4 separate regions of the Homo sapiens genome follow, and regions 2, 3 and 4 are each linked to region 1. The links are contacts of gene promoters, found by promoter capture Hi-C in blood cells and fetal thymus (Javierre and others, 2016). All regions are on one chromosome and are shown on one strand. Each heading gives the region's core, a stretch centred on a gene start or on the middle of the fragment in contact. The rest is flanking DNA. Distances are from core to core; before and after follow the strand shown. Region 1 holds the start of SLC44A1 (solute carrier family 44 member 1). Region 2 overlaps SLC44A1 (solute carrier family 44 member 1). Region 3 holds the start of FSD1L (fibronectin type III and SPRY domain containing 1 like). Region 4 has its middle 26 kb from the start of FSD1L.

Region 1 (3,518 bases), core at 322-2,821:
CAGCAGCAAAAACACTTCTGGCATTATCACAGATGCTAGCTTTCTGGAGGAATTTTTTCCCCCCAAACTAGCGTTTTTCTTCACCAAGAACCAACCATCCTTTATTTCTAAAAACAAGAGCCCTTTTCTGCCCCCTAAAACAAACAAATCACAGACCACAGTTAATGAAACTACGCTAATGAAACTGTGAGATTACATCCCAGGCGTTGTCAGAGCCTATTTTTCATACACCACCACAAGACAGTTTGATGCAGTATTCCTGATTGCTTTTTATAGTATTTGTAAATACACTCGCTAATCCACTAAATTAGGTAATTTACAAACAGGTCCTCTCAGTTATTAGTGGCCAGTAGTCGAGTTCTATTACATTTGATCCTCGTACAGTTGTCTAAACATTTCCACCCAGGTTAAGGGCTCGGATCCGAGAGAAGGAGGTTGGCGAAATTTGGATGGGGGCAGGGTAGAAGCTGAGAGAAATCTCTGCATCTCAGCCCTCAGCGACAACATTCAGCCAGTGCCCACAGAAAAACTAAATTCGGAACCTCTTCCTCCTGTTACACTGGCAACAAAGAGGGAGTTTCCGTAGCGCTCCCGTCACCCACCAGGTGCCCAATCTCCTTCCCAGCCCAGAGTCGGCGCTCCCGCAGGGGCCTCCGAGTGCGGGGAGGCCGCGGGGCCCGGGTCACGGCACTAAGGGGGGATGGGGTGCAAGCGAGCAAGCGAGGTCTGCGGAGCGGGCCGTGGAAGGGCTCCGGGACCCGCTGAAACCATCTGAACCCAGCCAGGGGGCAGCGGGCAAGAGAAAAGGGACAGAATATCTAATGAAGCAGAAACTGGAATTCGGTGGGAGAGGTGAAGAGCTCTTGCTGGGGGTACACCTGCGAGGAGCACAGAAAACGGGCGGCGGATGGCGGGGAGACTCCACGGAGGTGGAAGAGAGGAGCCAGGCCCGGAAGAACAGGGAAGGGGATGCCACCTGGGGCAGAGGAGGCGCCAGTGCAGCCTCTACCTGCAGGCGGGCGGGACGGGCAGCTCAGGTGTGACTGGGAGGAGGGGGCCGACTGGGGAAGGGGCCGGGAAGAGCTGAGGGCGCACTAGGCGCCGCGCAGAGGCGCCTTTGAGTCGGCAGCCGCGGAGCCAGCGCACGGGCATCGGCGGGACCCGGCGGACGGAAAGGCGGAGTGGGGGTCTTTGGACTGCACGGTGCGCTCAGGGGAGGCTGGGGACAGCGAGAGGTATCGGGCGGCGGGCGCCCGCCGCGCGACGCGGCGCACGGGAGGCATCCGGGCGGGCGGCCGGGAGGCGGGAGCCCCTCACCTGCGCGGCGGAGGAGGCGGAGCTGCAGCAGCCCATGGCGGGGCCGAAGGAGCCCGGAGGCGGCGCCGGGCGCGCAGCTACGCCCCGGAGCCCCTCGGCATGCGAGCCGGCGGGCGCCCGGGGAGGGCGCGGCCTGGCACCGCACGGCTAGGCGGCGGCGGCGGCTGCAGCGGCGGCTGGTACTCAAGAGGCGGCGCGGCTAGAGGCAGGCGCCGGCCACATCCCCCGGCGGCGGCGACGGCGGCTACGCGTCTCCTGCTCTGCTCCTGCTGCAGCAGCTGCTCCCCAGCGGAAAGGGGCGGGCGGCGGCGGCGGCGGCGCCTCCCTCTGTCCCCCCGCCTCCCGCCTCCCGCGCCCAGTCCCTCTCCCGCTCCCTCTCCCGGGCCGCCGCCTCCTCAGCGCCGCGCGCGTCTCCCATCAGACTCCCCGCCCCCAGTGCAGCGCCGTGCTGGTGGCAGGGCGGCGGCAGCCAGAACAAGGCCGGGCCCTTCCGCGCGTGTCAGAGGCTGCGCGGCGCCGGGCTTATTTAGCTGTGGCACCGAGGCAGCTCTCTGCCTCGAGGCTGGAGGGCAACGCGGTCTGAGGCAGCCAAAGACCGGGCCAACTCGCTGCCAAAAAGGGGCCGGATTGCTTCCGGATCTAGGAGGCAAGCGGGACTTCTCCCTCTCCCTACTGGACGCACAACTCAGGATCCTGATGGCTTCTTACCGCCCCGTCGGCTGTTTTTTTTCTCCAGAGGAAAGCGTACACAAGAAACCTTTCCTGGAGAAGGAATAGGTGATAAGAAGACGGGAAGAAACAAGCATCTGTTGCTACTGTCCCCATTTTGCTGATGTGGAAACTGAGGCTTGAAAGGGACCAAGAACCTAATGAAATGTTCCCAAGGTTGAAATGGTAATAAATAGCCAGAAATGAGGAAAAGGCAAAAAGTTATCCAGGCTCGCAAGTCAAAGCCATACTGGATCTAAGCTAAACTTTCTTATACAGGATAGTCTACAAAAAACAATAAGGGGACATTAATTTATTCATATTAAAAATACTTACTGAAGACACACTACGTTCCAGTGACTAGTACTGGGAATAAAGAGGCGAGCAAAAGAGACTTACCAAGTTCCTGTTGCTAAATCAGTAAGACTCAAGGAAGTAGCAACAAGTTAGAGTAGACGTGGTAACTACCTTCAAGAAATTTACAATTCCAAACGAGTCGTTAGGAAATACAGTATGAGGTGAAAACAGTTAAAAAGTGAAAGAAATAAAACTAAAGATAATGATGTTAAAAAAAACCCCACATTATCAGGCACTGTTATAGCCTTCATATGTCATTTCATCTTGTCAAAGAATGTCTCAAAAGACAGCCACAGGAAAGAAAAGAAAAACTTTATTTGCAAAGCTGCAAGGGAGTGAGACTTCCAAAAGGACTGATTCACCAAATATGAGACATCAAGTTTTAAAGATTAGTTAAAGTATAGAGGGAAGAAAAGAACACAGAATTAAATTGACTTTACATGCACTGAAAGGGAATCTAAGCCAAGGAAAGTTGGAATGGTAGCCTGTAAGGGGACAGCTACAGAAAGGGCCAGGGAAGAAGAATTCCTAATTGATGTTTTCCTATGCCATTTCCTGAGTTCGTGACTGTGGACGAGTTATCTCTCCAAATCTCATTGTCCGCTTCTGTGAAATGCTGGTAGCAGGGATGACTGCAAAGGCTTGTGGTCAAGATTAAATAACATAAGAAAGTGCTGCTAGGTCAGCAAGTACTCAACTGATTGAGATCTTGAATTCTTCTGCATTCTTTCTAGTTTCCTTTCAGGTTAATCAGAGGGTCCACCATACCACGGAGCTGGCGAATCCTACATGTGTTTCCCATAACCATTAAACCAATAAATACAAGTGAAGACATAAAACTAATGGTTCTAGTCCCAATTCTGGTTGTAAACTCCAGAATTAGATTGTAAACTCCCTGAGAACAAGGAAAAGTATTTTCTCCTTTGTATCTCCCTCAGCTCTCTCAAATGTTTGTTGAATTATTCAGTGCAGCCAAGAATAAAAAACATTCCCTTGAGATTTTCCCTCAAAGCCAGAAAAGTACATCTTGTTTTTAACTCGGGGAGGAGGCTGAAAGTAAAACTACAGTCCTAAACAAGAAGCCATCTGTCTTCCTTCTTTATAGTCAAGGAAAGGGGAGTTGTTTCTCTTTGCAG
Region 2 (3,174 bases), core at 10-2,509, 140 kb before region 1:
AATTCTTGGGTCCTTTCAGATTTGTTAGTAGATGAATTCTAAAGAACATCTACATTTTTGACTCAATCTTGGTAAATGGATGGCTTAAAAACATAGCAATAAATAATGTTTAGTATCACACATGAGAGTTGCTAAATTTGTAGAAATGGACTCTGCAATTCGCTGATTAAAAAAATCTTCTTTCCATCCATTCATTGTGACAATCTTACTAAGGCTCCAAGAGATAATGTTAGTTCTACCTGGAAGAGAAAATACCTAACATTTTTAAGAGGCTATTTTCTCATACTCAGAATATCATTTTATTTGTTGTTGTTGTTTTTTTCTATATCAAGGTTAAATGAAACAACAAGAACACGTTACTCCATAAGCCTCCACTTTTAAATAACCATAGAAGGTAAAAGAACACATTGATACTGCTAAGCACATAATGCTTTTTTTCTTAACCAAACCATAAACAAACTACTCTTTTTAAAAAAAGTGTCAATCTGACCATGACATTACTTCATGAAGCAGGAAGACAGGGTGTATCAACCAGAACCTATGGTTAGTAGTAGTCGAAATGGGAATGTGCCCAAAGGGAACATTTCTATTCTGTCAACGTTTACGGGGAACTTCTTCATTAAATATCCTCACCATTCCTACAGAGAAAACTGAAGGGTGGAAAACAGTTATTTTTTACTCTGCTTTTGATCAGTGACTTAAAAAACAGTAACACTCTTCTAAATGCTTTAGTCACAAAAGAGATACAATAATCATGATCAAATTCCATTAAGAAAATAACCAGTTAGAATTAGTTTAGACATTAAGAAAATGTCCAGAATTTAGCTGATGTTGCCAGAAAAAGAGAAAATCAGTGCCAAATAGGTCAGCTAAATCATTTGGAATTCTTGCTATTGAAAAGAAAAAAAAAATCTAGGCTGGGCATGGAGGCTCACACCTGTAATCCCAGCATTTTGGAAGGCCGAGGCAGGCAGATCACCTGAGGACAGGAGTTCAAGACCGGCCTGGCCAACATGGTAAAACCCCATCTCTACTAAAAATACAAAAATTAGCCAGGAGTGGTGGCACATGCATGTAATCCCAGCTATTTGGGAGGCTGAGGGAGAACTGCTTGAACCTGGGAGGTAGAGGTTGCAGAGCCAAGACCATGCCACTGCACTGCAGTCTGGGTGACAAAGCAAGACTCCGTCTCAAAAAGAAAAAAAAAAAAATCTAGCTTATTTATTAATACACTTATTTTAGATTTAACTGGATAAAATATGCTCCTGGAAAATGACTTGTTATTTCAATGTATAATGCTTAGTATTCAATATTACCCATTTTGAGATAGAAATATTTCACAGCTTAATAGCAAACTACTATTATTTAGAAAGCATCTTTACTTTGGTAACATTTAACACTGATTATAACAGTACTTAAACCATTTAATAAGGTTTTCAAAATTTTAAAGAAATTTAATTGAGGTTCTAATATGAAAAATCTGCATATATCTGTGTAAAGGTTCAGATCTTGACTAATAAATAACTATACACTCTACCAGTCATGGGTCTGTTATCGGTATTCATCACAAAATGCTTTCAATTTGGCCTACCATATTTAAGATAATGAGTTTTAACCAGGGTTGACAGCAGTAATGTTTGGGGCAGTGGTGGATAGAGAAAGACAGGTAGGCACTAGGACCTGGGAAACAGGATATTTTGTCTTTGAGCCCCATTTCAGGAAAAGGCTAGAAGCTAGTTTAAAAAGTCAATTCAAATCTATCTAACTACAGAGAGAGGGGCAGCAAGAATAGGGTGAACTTAGGACTATTAACCAGTACTGCTCTAGCTAGGTGGATCTGAAATGATCTTGTCCATGCCAAGAAGCCGTCCTCCCTGACTTACCCTAGATTAACCTCATTTATGAGTCAGTGCTATGGGGTTAATTCTAAATTACTCAGTTGCATATAGTGTGAATTAAATATAGAGAATGTTTTACAAAATATTTTTATTGGTATTTTTATCCCTAAAATAGGAAACGGCATTTGAAGTACTTACCATCAGCACTTTATCCATATAGAATTCTCTGCCAGGGCTCCCATCATTGTATTTTGTATCAATGGCAAAACACAAGAATAATACATCCACTACCATTTCATAAATAGACAGGAAGCAATGAGCGACTAGGAAAGCAAAGAGGCAGACGATGATCAGAGGCAGCACCCATACTGTGTAGTCCTGCTGGTAGTTGAGCAGCATAATCCCAGCTAAACCTGTGCTGCAGACTATCAGCACCTGAAGCAGAGAGAACAAAGATCATATTTAATATCCTACTGAAGAAAGCCACTCTTTTTTCACCATTTGCAGACTTAAAATTCTACTATTTATAAATGATGGTTGCATGAGGCCATTCCATCTCAAATGAGGAAATATAATCCACATATTCTCATATACACCCAGAGTTATACATGCTTATCATATAATATAAATTTTAAAATCATACTTTAAATGATTCTGGTTTAAACATAATTAAGTTTTCCAAATGCTATGCTGCACCCTAAAACTTAATCTATTTAGAATCTGTGGCAATTTTTAAGATAAATGTATGCATATTTTAGAAAAAATTTACAAACTCTTAGCACTCAGAAAAAAAGTGATATTTCAGTGTAATGGTATGTATTTTTTCTAAGCATTTTCACATATATGAAATAGTATTATATAAACAAATCACTATAAGCTTTTCATTAATATACATAGAAGTATCATTATAAATGCTTCATATTTACTCAGCTACATAATTTCATTTTATGAGTGATTTAAAATACATGTAACCATTCTCTTACTGTTAGAGATTTATATTGTTTTCAGATATAAATAATGCTGCAACAAACATGTATAGTCTTAGAACTTTTTCTGTGTTTCGTATTTTATTTCACATAGAATATGTGGTAAATATAATTTGCCATGAAGTGTATATTTGGACTCTCTGTGAAGAAAGAGGTTGCCAAAAACATCCATGCTAAAAGAATAAAAGAAATAGCCAATTTAGTTATTGTCAAGAACCACCCACTCTGATGCTTATTTCACATGCAGCATTTTAAATTTTTTGTGGTTTTTAAAATACATTTTATTCCAGCTTTTCAATAACCCTATGAATGGTTTATGGCAAATATTATCATCCCATTTTATAGCCTTG
Region 3 (3,449 bases), core at 744-3,243, 200 kb before region 1:
TTAGAAAGATTTGGTACCACCAATGAAATTCAACATATTTTCTAATATTGAGAAGTTGATTCTCAAAGATATCACAAATAAGATACATTACTACTACTACTAAGAAAGAGAAGCTAATTCTTTGCTACCTCTCAGGAAACTGCACGTGGTAACCTGTAGGTACCCTAACACATCATTCGAAATGAGAACAAATAGGTTCAAATCTTAGCCTTAGGGCTAGTAGCATGACCTTCCAGGAGTCACAACTCATTAAAGTAAGGAATAATGCATCCCTGATAAAGTATGATGATCAATATTAAAACACATTTTTTTGTATTTTATGGGACACAGTATTTTAGTGGTCATACTTTGTAAACTTTAAAATGCTGTGTTTTCAGAACAAACTATTTTATCAGATTTTTACTATGACACTATAAAATACTCTTACTTCTACTGCATAGATGAGGAAACAGATTAATCACAGTTAAGTGACTTGCTCCTTATCACAGAGCTAGTAAATAGCATCCTGGAACCCATGTCTCCGGACTTTGCTCCTTCACTTGACCTCTGCTAATGTCCATTCAAATATCATTTCTTTTATCTAATAAGCTGAGAGATGTTTTACAAATTTAGGCAGAGACAATATTTTAAACCTATACATACTCAAAATACACAAAATCTAATTTTTAAAAAATGCCTTAAGAATAGTCATGCATTCCAAGGTGAGTTTCAAGACCAACACATACAATGAAATCATATGCATATTTGTTAAATACTGTAATAGTCAATGCTCAACACATCATTATTCTCTCATGCCCTCAGTGAAGTGATCCTCAAGAAGGTGAATGTAGACAAAATTGTAGAAAACGTTGTTCTAAGTCTTTCCCGTGCTTTCTAATAATAGAAAAGAATAGTCTCTTAGATATGTCTTTGTTTTCCCTGCTACATTATTAATACTCCTTGTTTTTTCTTTCCTACCCTGTACTATATTTCAATTACGTTATAGTCTAACAAAGAGAACAGGGTGGTTATTTTCATATGGAGATTATGACTGAATAATTCACTTCTAACTGTATTCAAGACATTGGCTTTGTTCTCCAAATACTTCTGAATTGAACCTTTACGATTATATAACCTTTCCTCAACTGTTCGGAAAGTATAAAACATTCCACAACGACCCCTAAGTAACTGTGCCCAGCAACACCAACTGGTCAGAGAGTGGGAAGGCTGCCCTAACAATTGAAGTCTTTTCCCTCCATTCAACGAACACTAAACACTAAGATCTACTTAGGAAAAGTCATGGGAAGGGGAGCGGTGGGCGGTACAAAGGAGATTCGGTCCCTGACCTAAAGAGCGTGGTGCTGAGACGAGACTTGGTCGAGGAGAAAGCCCCAGCTTTCGGCGTCAGCAGGGAGACACCAAAAAGGCTGTGCCTCGGTTTCCTCACCTGCTGAGGAGGGATACACCCCCACCAGCACGCTCGCAGTCTGCAGGCATGAAAACCGGCCTAAAGCGCTGCAGAGTGGCTGATTTTAAAAGGGGGATGGCTCCGTTTCTCCTCCAGAGTCAGGGCCCCGGACAGCGCGCAGAGCAGAGGCCAGCCCGAGTCACCGGGCGCGGTCCCCGCATCCGTGTGGGCGCCTCTTAGCTCCCGCCCAGAGAGCGGCCGGGCGGCCTTGCCCTCCGCAGCAGCAGCCCGGACGCCCGGCCAGGCCCACCCCGCGCACCCACAGCCCACGGGCCCAGGCGCCCCGCCCACCCTGTGCCGGCCCGGCTTGTCTCGGTAGCCCCGGGCTCCCCTCCCCCGCTTACTTTCTGGGAGTCCATGGCGAGTGGCTAAGCCCACTGGGCTCGAACCCGAGACGACGAACCGTGTGAGGAGGCTCAGCGAGATCGCACACCCCAAGACCGCTACTCACTGCACTGCCCCAGCCCGCACCGGCACCGCCCGGCCCCACCCGTCCGCGCCCAGACCGCGCGCGCCGTAGTCACGCCGCGGTTGCCAGGGTGAAAGGGCGGCCCGCAGAAGGGAGGGGCTGAGGAGCGCACCGCGCCTGCGCGCAGCGGCTGACTGCTCCCGGGAAGTAGCCGTGGAGGGTGGGGAGCGCCGCCCGTCTGTCTACCGCTAGTGCCTCTGCAGGCTGCACTCCCTTCCCCCATCCTTTTTCCTCCAGCGATAGCGGTCTCTCCGGCCCTGAAATAGGCCACTGGGCATCCAGCAGCCGGCCGGTGCGGAGGGCCCGGGAAGGAAAGAGTATCTGGTGCTGGAGACGGATTAGCCCACCCTCCACCCAGCACGCATCTGAAGCCCCTCCCCACACTATCCTTCGAGGGGCAGCCAGGCTTGAGCGGACCCAGCGGTCCAAAGGGAGGAAAAGGGCTGGGGTGGGGATGTAGCGAAAACGTGGGAAAAGACCTTTAGGGGATGTGGTGGAAACGTGGGAGGAGGGATATAGGGATGAGAGTGGCGGAAACGTGGGTGTGGGATTAATATGAGCTTTGGGGCCTGGCACAGTTTTTCCCGGGGACCCACCCATCCTCCCCGGCACCTCGCTACCTGTATGATTTTGAGCAAGTCAGTCTGCCTGAGCTTGTTTCATCTGTAAAATGAGAGAAATAATGCGGACTTTGCAGAGGATTGTGAGGATTAAATAACGTATGGTACATAATTAGTAGTGAATAAATTATAGTCATTCTCTTTTTTTTTTTTTTTTTTTTTTTTTGGAGATGGAGTCTCGGTCTGTCACCGAGGCTGGAGTGCAGTGGTGCCATCTTGGCTCACTGCAACCTCTGCCTCCCGGGTTCCAGGAATTCTCGTGCCTCAGCCTCATGAGTAGCTGGGATTACAGGCGCCCCCACCACACCTGGCTAATTTTTTGTACTTTTAGCGGAGACTGGTTCTAGCCATGTTGCTTAGGATGGTCTCGAACTCCTAAGCTCAGGCAGTCCGCCCACCTCAGCCTCCCAAATTGCTAGGATTACAGGTGTGGGTTACAGGGCATGTGCCAGGCCCATTATAGTCATTCTTAGTGGGGAGTTAGAACCTGCTCGGTGTGGCCTGAGGCATCAATGAAGATTTTAGAAAGCTTGGAATTTAGTAGGCTTGAGAAAGTTCTTCCTCAAGCAGACAGGCCTCATCTTCCATTTGGATGACTCTGGAGAGGCTCACAAAAGTTCAATTAGACAGTCATTTATGATGAATGAATAAAAGGGAAATACATATTGAGTACCTATTCTGTACCAGTTCTACAAACAAAATTCAGTAGTGGGCAAGGCCCTGTTTCTCTCACAGAGCTTACAATCTAGTATAGAAGACCAACCAAAAAAAAAAAAAAAGTTAACGTGCTAGACGGTTATAGGTGCTAAAATTAAAACTTAGGCCAGGCATGGTGGCTCACACCTGTAATCCCAACACTTTGGGAGGCCCAATGAGTGGATCACTTGAGTCCAGGAGTTCGAGACCAGCCTGG
Region 4 (3,391 bases), core at 20-2,519, 180 kb before region 1:
GGACCAGAGAGAGGAGGGCAAGAGCAGGGAGCCTGGTGTTCAGGATCTAAAGATTGTACTGATTGCATCTAATCAAAATTAACTCTGAAAAATCTCTTAAATCATCCATAAAGTACAATACTGTACATATGTGTTTTATGTATGCAGCCCTATATTATTATTTTTAATTTTTCCTTGTCCATATTTCCCTATGGCTCTCAATTAATTTAATTTCATCTTCCATGATGTTGGAATCAACACCCACTTACCTGGTTACTTGAACAATGTTTCCTTCTATATCCATGGTGAGTAAACCCTTAAAAGCATTCAGATTTTCTTGATAGATTGGCTTTTAGGCTTGATGACATCTATTGCTCTCATAAGTTAATACATCTATAAGATGACTCCTTGTATATTTTGGAAAATGGCAAGACTCAAAATGACAAGTTGAAAGAAAGGGAAATTTAATGATTCTAGGTTACCAGCTTGAACAACTGGTTTAACAGTGTTACTATTTACTGAGATATGAAAGGTTAGAGGAAGAAGCGGTTTAGATGTATTATAATTCATTCACCTGATTCTCTATTGTTGGGTATTCAGGTTGGCTGCAATATTTTATAACAAGGAACAATAGTCTGATTTGCAGCAAAATCTTTTCACATGTCCTTAATTTCTAAACACAGAATTGCTGGATAAAAATGTGCACATTCTTGAGATTTTATTTTATTTTATTTTATGAGACCGAGCCTCGCTCTGTTGCCCAGGCTGGAGTGCAATGGGGCAATCTCGGCTCACTGCAACCTTCATCTCCTGGGTTTAAGTGATTCTCCCTGCCTCAGCCTCCTGGACCAGCTGGGATTACAGACATGTGCCACCATACCCGCCTAATTTTTGTATTTTTAGTAGAGACAGGGTTTCACCATGTTGGTCAGGCTGATCTCGAACTCCTGACCTCAGGTGATCCGCCCACCCGACCTCAGGTGATCCGCCCACCCTGGCCTCCCAAAGTGTTGAGATTACAGGCGTGAGCCACCACGCCTGGCCCATTCTTGAGATTTTTAATACACGTTTCCAAATGACTTTCAAAAGAGCTGTTTCCTCACACTGTTAACATAAGAGTAGATTTCAAACACTCAAATTCTGTCTCCCTCCCTCTTTCCTTCCGTCCCAGTTTTCCTTTGTTCATTCAATAAGTACCTACTATGTCCCACACAGGGCCTGACATAAATCTAACTTTGCTCCTTGCTAGGGGTTAGGAGATGATCGGGGAGAAGGAAGTGTAATGGAGAACTCTAGAGTTTTTAACATGAGTGACTTGGATATTCTACCCACAAACTTGTTTGATTCTGGACACCAGACAAGATAAGCTAAAATTCCCTCTTTATTTAAATTGGTGGTGCCACTGAGAGTTTGTAAGAAAAAATGTTCAACTTCACGCAAACCAGAAGTAGGACACTGAAAATAGGCTTTGCCCCCAGGGAATTATAATTTAGTGGGTACCATTTTACAATGCAAATTTGGCCCTCTAATTAGCCAAATGGCCACAGCAATTCTCCAGCATATGAGGTAGGTCTGTCCTATCCAGGGATCTGTCTCATGGCCGCTGATAAAGGATGGGGCTGGGCACAGTGGCTCACACCTGTAATCCCAGCACTTTGGGAGGCTGAAGGGACAGATCACCAGTTTAAGAGATCAAGACCATCCTGGCCAACATGGTGAAACCCCGTCTCTACTAAAAATACAAAAATTAGCTAGGTGTGGTGGCACGCGCCTGTAGTTCCAGCTACTCAGGAGGCTGAGGCAGGAGAATTGCTTGAACCCGGGATGCAGAGGTTGCAGTGAGCCGAGATGGTGCCACTTCACTCCAGCCTGGCTACAGAGTAAGACTCTGTCTCAAAAAAAAAAAAAAAAAAAAAAAAAAGGATGGAGCAGGAGGCCCAAGGTCAGGGCAGGAGTCCTGCATCATGAGATCATGAGGGCCCCTTTCTGTGCAGTACAGAGGGACCAGCTTCCACCCTGCTGATTTAAGGGGAAATTTCTAACTACTTGGCTTGAGTACCTAAGTTGCTAGATGTAACTCTGACCTTGAGGATAAAAAGGAAGTTGGTGGACTTCCTTATTGTCATCACTCAGGTAGGAGAGTCCAACCTAACGCTGTCACCTCTCTCAACTGGCACTCAGTGAAACACTTGAGTATGCTCAGTACTGTAGTCACTTCTACCAGAGGTCCGAACTTACTGGAAAAGTTAGGCCTGTGCAAGACTGAAAAATACTGACAATGCACCAGTGTGCTGAAGGAATTCAAAGCAGATTCCTGGCTGGGCGCGGTGGCTCACGCCTGTAATCCCAGCACTTTGGGAGGCCGAGGCGGGTGGATCAAGAGGTCAGGAGATTGAGACTATCCTGGCTAACACGGTGAAACCCCGCCTCTACTAAAAATACAAAAAATTAGCCGGGCGCCGTGGTAGGCACCTGTAGTCCCAGCTACTCGGGAGGCTGAGGCAGGAGAATGGCGTGAACCCAGGAAGCGGAGCTTGCAGTGAGCCGAGATCGCGCCACTGCACTCTGCCTACCTGGGCGACAGATGGAAACTCTGTCTCAAAAAAAAAAAAAAAAAAAAGAGATTTCTGAAGTCTTGTGAACCTAATGCAAGATTGGATTATGAGTGTCGCTGCTCTATTCTCTGAATGTGGGTTACTATATAAACTCCTGTAATCCAGAACTCTTTTAATGACGGTGGCTCTAATGCTTAGTTGAATAACTTGCCAGAGGCTCTCTGACCTCTAGTAATATAACTTAAGTTTCTGAGTCATTGTGATCTCAACTTTAAAATGGGAACCACTCTCTGTCTCATGATTCTTACAAGGATTTAAAGATAATGCCTAGAAAGCCCTTAGCACAGTGGCTTTTGCTTACTAGGCAAAAGGAGAAAAAGTGTTCAGTAAATGATAGCTGTTCCAGGAGCAATGTATGCCATTCCAGCACATCTAATTCATAAAATATTAATGCATTCCATTTATCACATCATATATTTGAAAACCAGAGGAACCACTTCCAGGTATTGTTTTATAAGGAAAATAAATAATTTTAAGGTGAAATAGTTTTTAAAACGCTTAACACCTGCCTTTTAAAAATATATGATACGGTTAAACCTATGGAACTCTGGATATTTGTTACTTTATTCAACATTTTCTGAATTGTTTTTATTTATCAAAATTATGCTATATATCTGTGTCTTTCTGAATGGACTCTTGCAGTGCTTAACTCAGTAGGACATCAAAGCAACACAACAGCACGTCTATCTAGACCATCCTTTTTTTTTTTTTTTTTTTTTTTTTTTTGAGATGGAGTTTCACTCTTGTTGCCCAGGCTGGAGTGCAATGGTGCGATCTCAGCTCACTGCAACCTCCGC

The links. Contacts are between HindIII fragments. The CHiCAGO score rates a contact against its expected background, and 5 or more counts as called.
Region 2: a fragment that was not itself captured here is called in contact with the fragment with the promoter of SLC44A1 in region 1 in 1 of 17 cell types (M0 macrophages); the score reaches 5.0 in M0 macrophages.
Region 3: the fragment with the promoter of FSD1L here is called in contact with the fragment with the promoter of SLC44A1 in region 1 in 8 of 17 cell types (activated CD4 T cells, naive CD8 T cells, total CD4 T cells and 5 more); the score reaches 7.9 in activated CD4 T cells.
Region 4: a fragment that was not itself captured here is called in contact with the fragment with the promoter of SLC44A1 in region 1 in 1 of 17 cell types (M2 macrophages); the score reaches 5.1 in M2 macrophages.

The regions. Positions count from the first base shown.
Region 1 is chr9:105,242,704-105,246,221 of GRCh38, reverse strand. It overlaps SLC44A1 (solute carrier family 44 member 1), which reads right to left and starts at 1,571. Exons shown (of 16, transcript NM_080546.5): 1 at 1,318-1,571. The coding sequence starts at 1,353. LOC112268038 (a long non-coding RNA gene) reads left to right here and starts at 629. Exons shown (of 3, transcript XR_002956866.2): 1 at 629-1,203. RefSeq lists silencers at 629-708, 1,049-1,188, 1,199-1,798 and enhancers at 121-1,024, 1,025-1,929. The HindIII fragment of the contact is 7,272 bases long and covers 1-3,518 here.
Region 2 is chr9:105,382,222-105,385,395 of GRCh38, reverse strand. It overlaps SLC44A1 (solute carrier family 44 member 1), which reads right to left. Exons shown (of 16, transcript NM_080546.5): 14 at 2,037-2,273. Among named protein-coding and RNA genes, the nearest start is that of FSD1L, 64 kb to the left of the region's middle. The HindIII fragment of the contact is 2,916 bases long and covers 1-2,717 here.
Region 3 is chr9:105,446,578-105,450,026 of GRCh38, reverse strand. FSD1L (fibronectin type III and SPRY domain containing 1 like) reads right to left here and starts at 1,993. Exons shown (of 14, transcript NM_001145313.3): 1 at 1,792-1,993. The coding sequence starts at 1,806. RefSeq lists a silencer at 1,503-2,112. The HindIII fragment of the contact is 4,464 bases long and covers 1-3,067 here.
Region 4 is chr9:105,420,791-105,424,181 of GRCh38, reverse strand. It overlaps a transcript of SLC44A1 not described here. Among named protein-coding and RNA genes, the nearest start is that of FSD1L, 26 kb to the left of the region's middle. The HindIII fragment of the contact is 4,715 bases long and covers 1-3,391 here.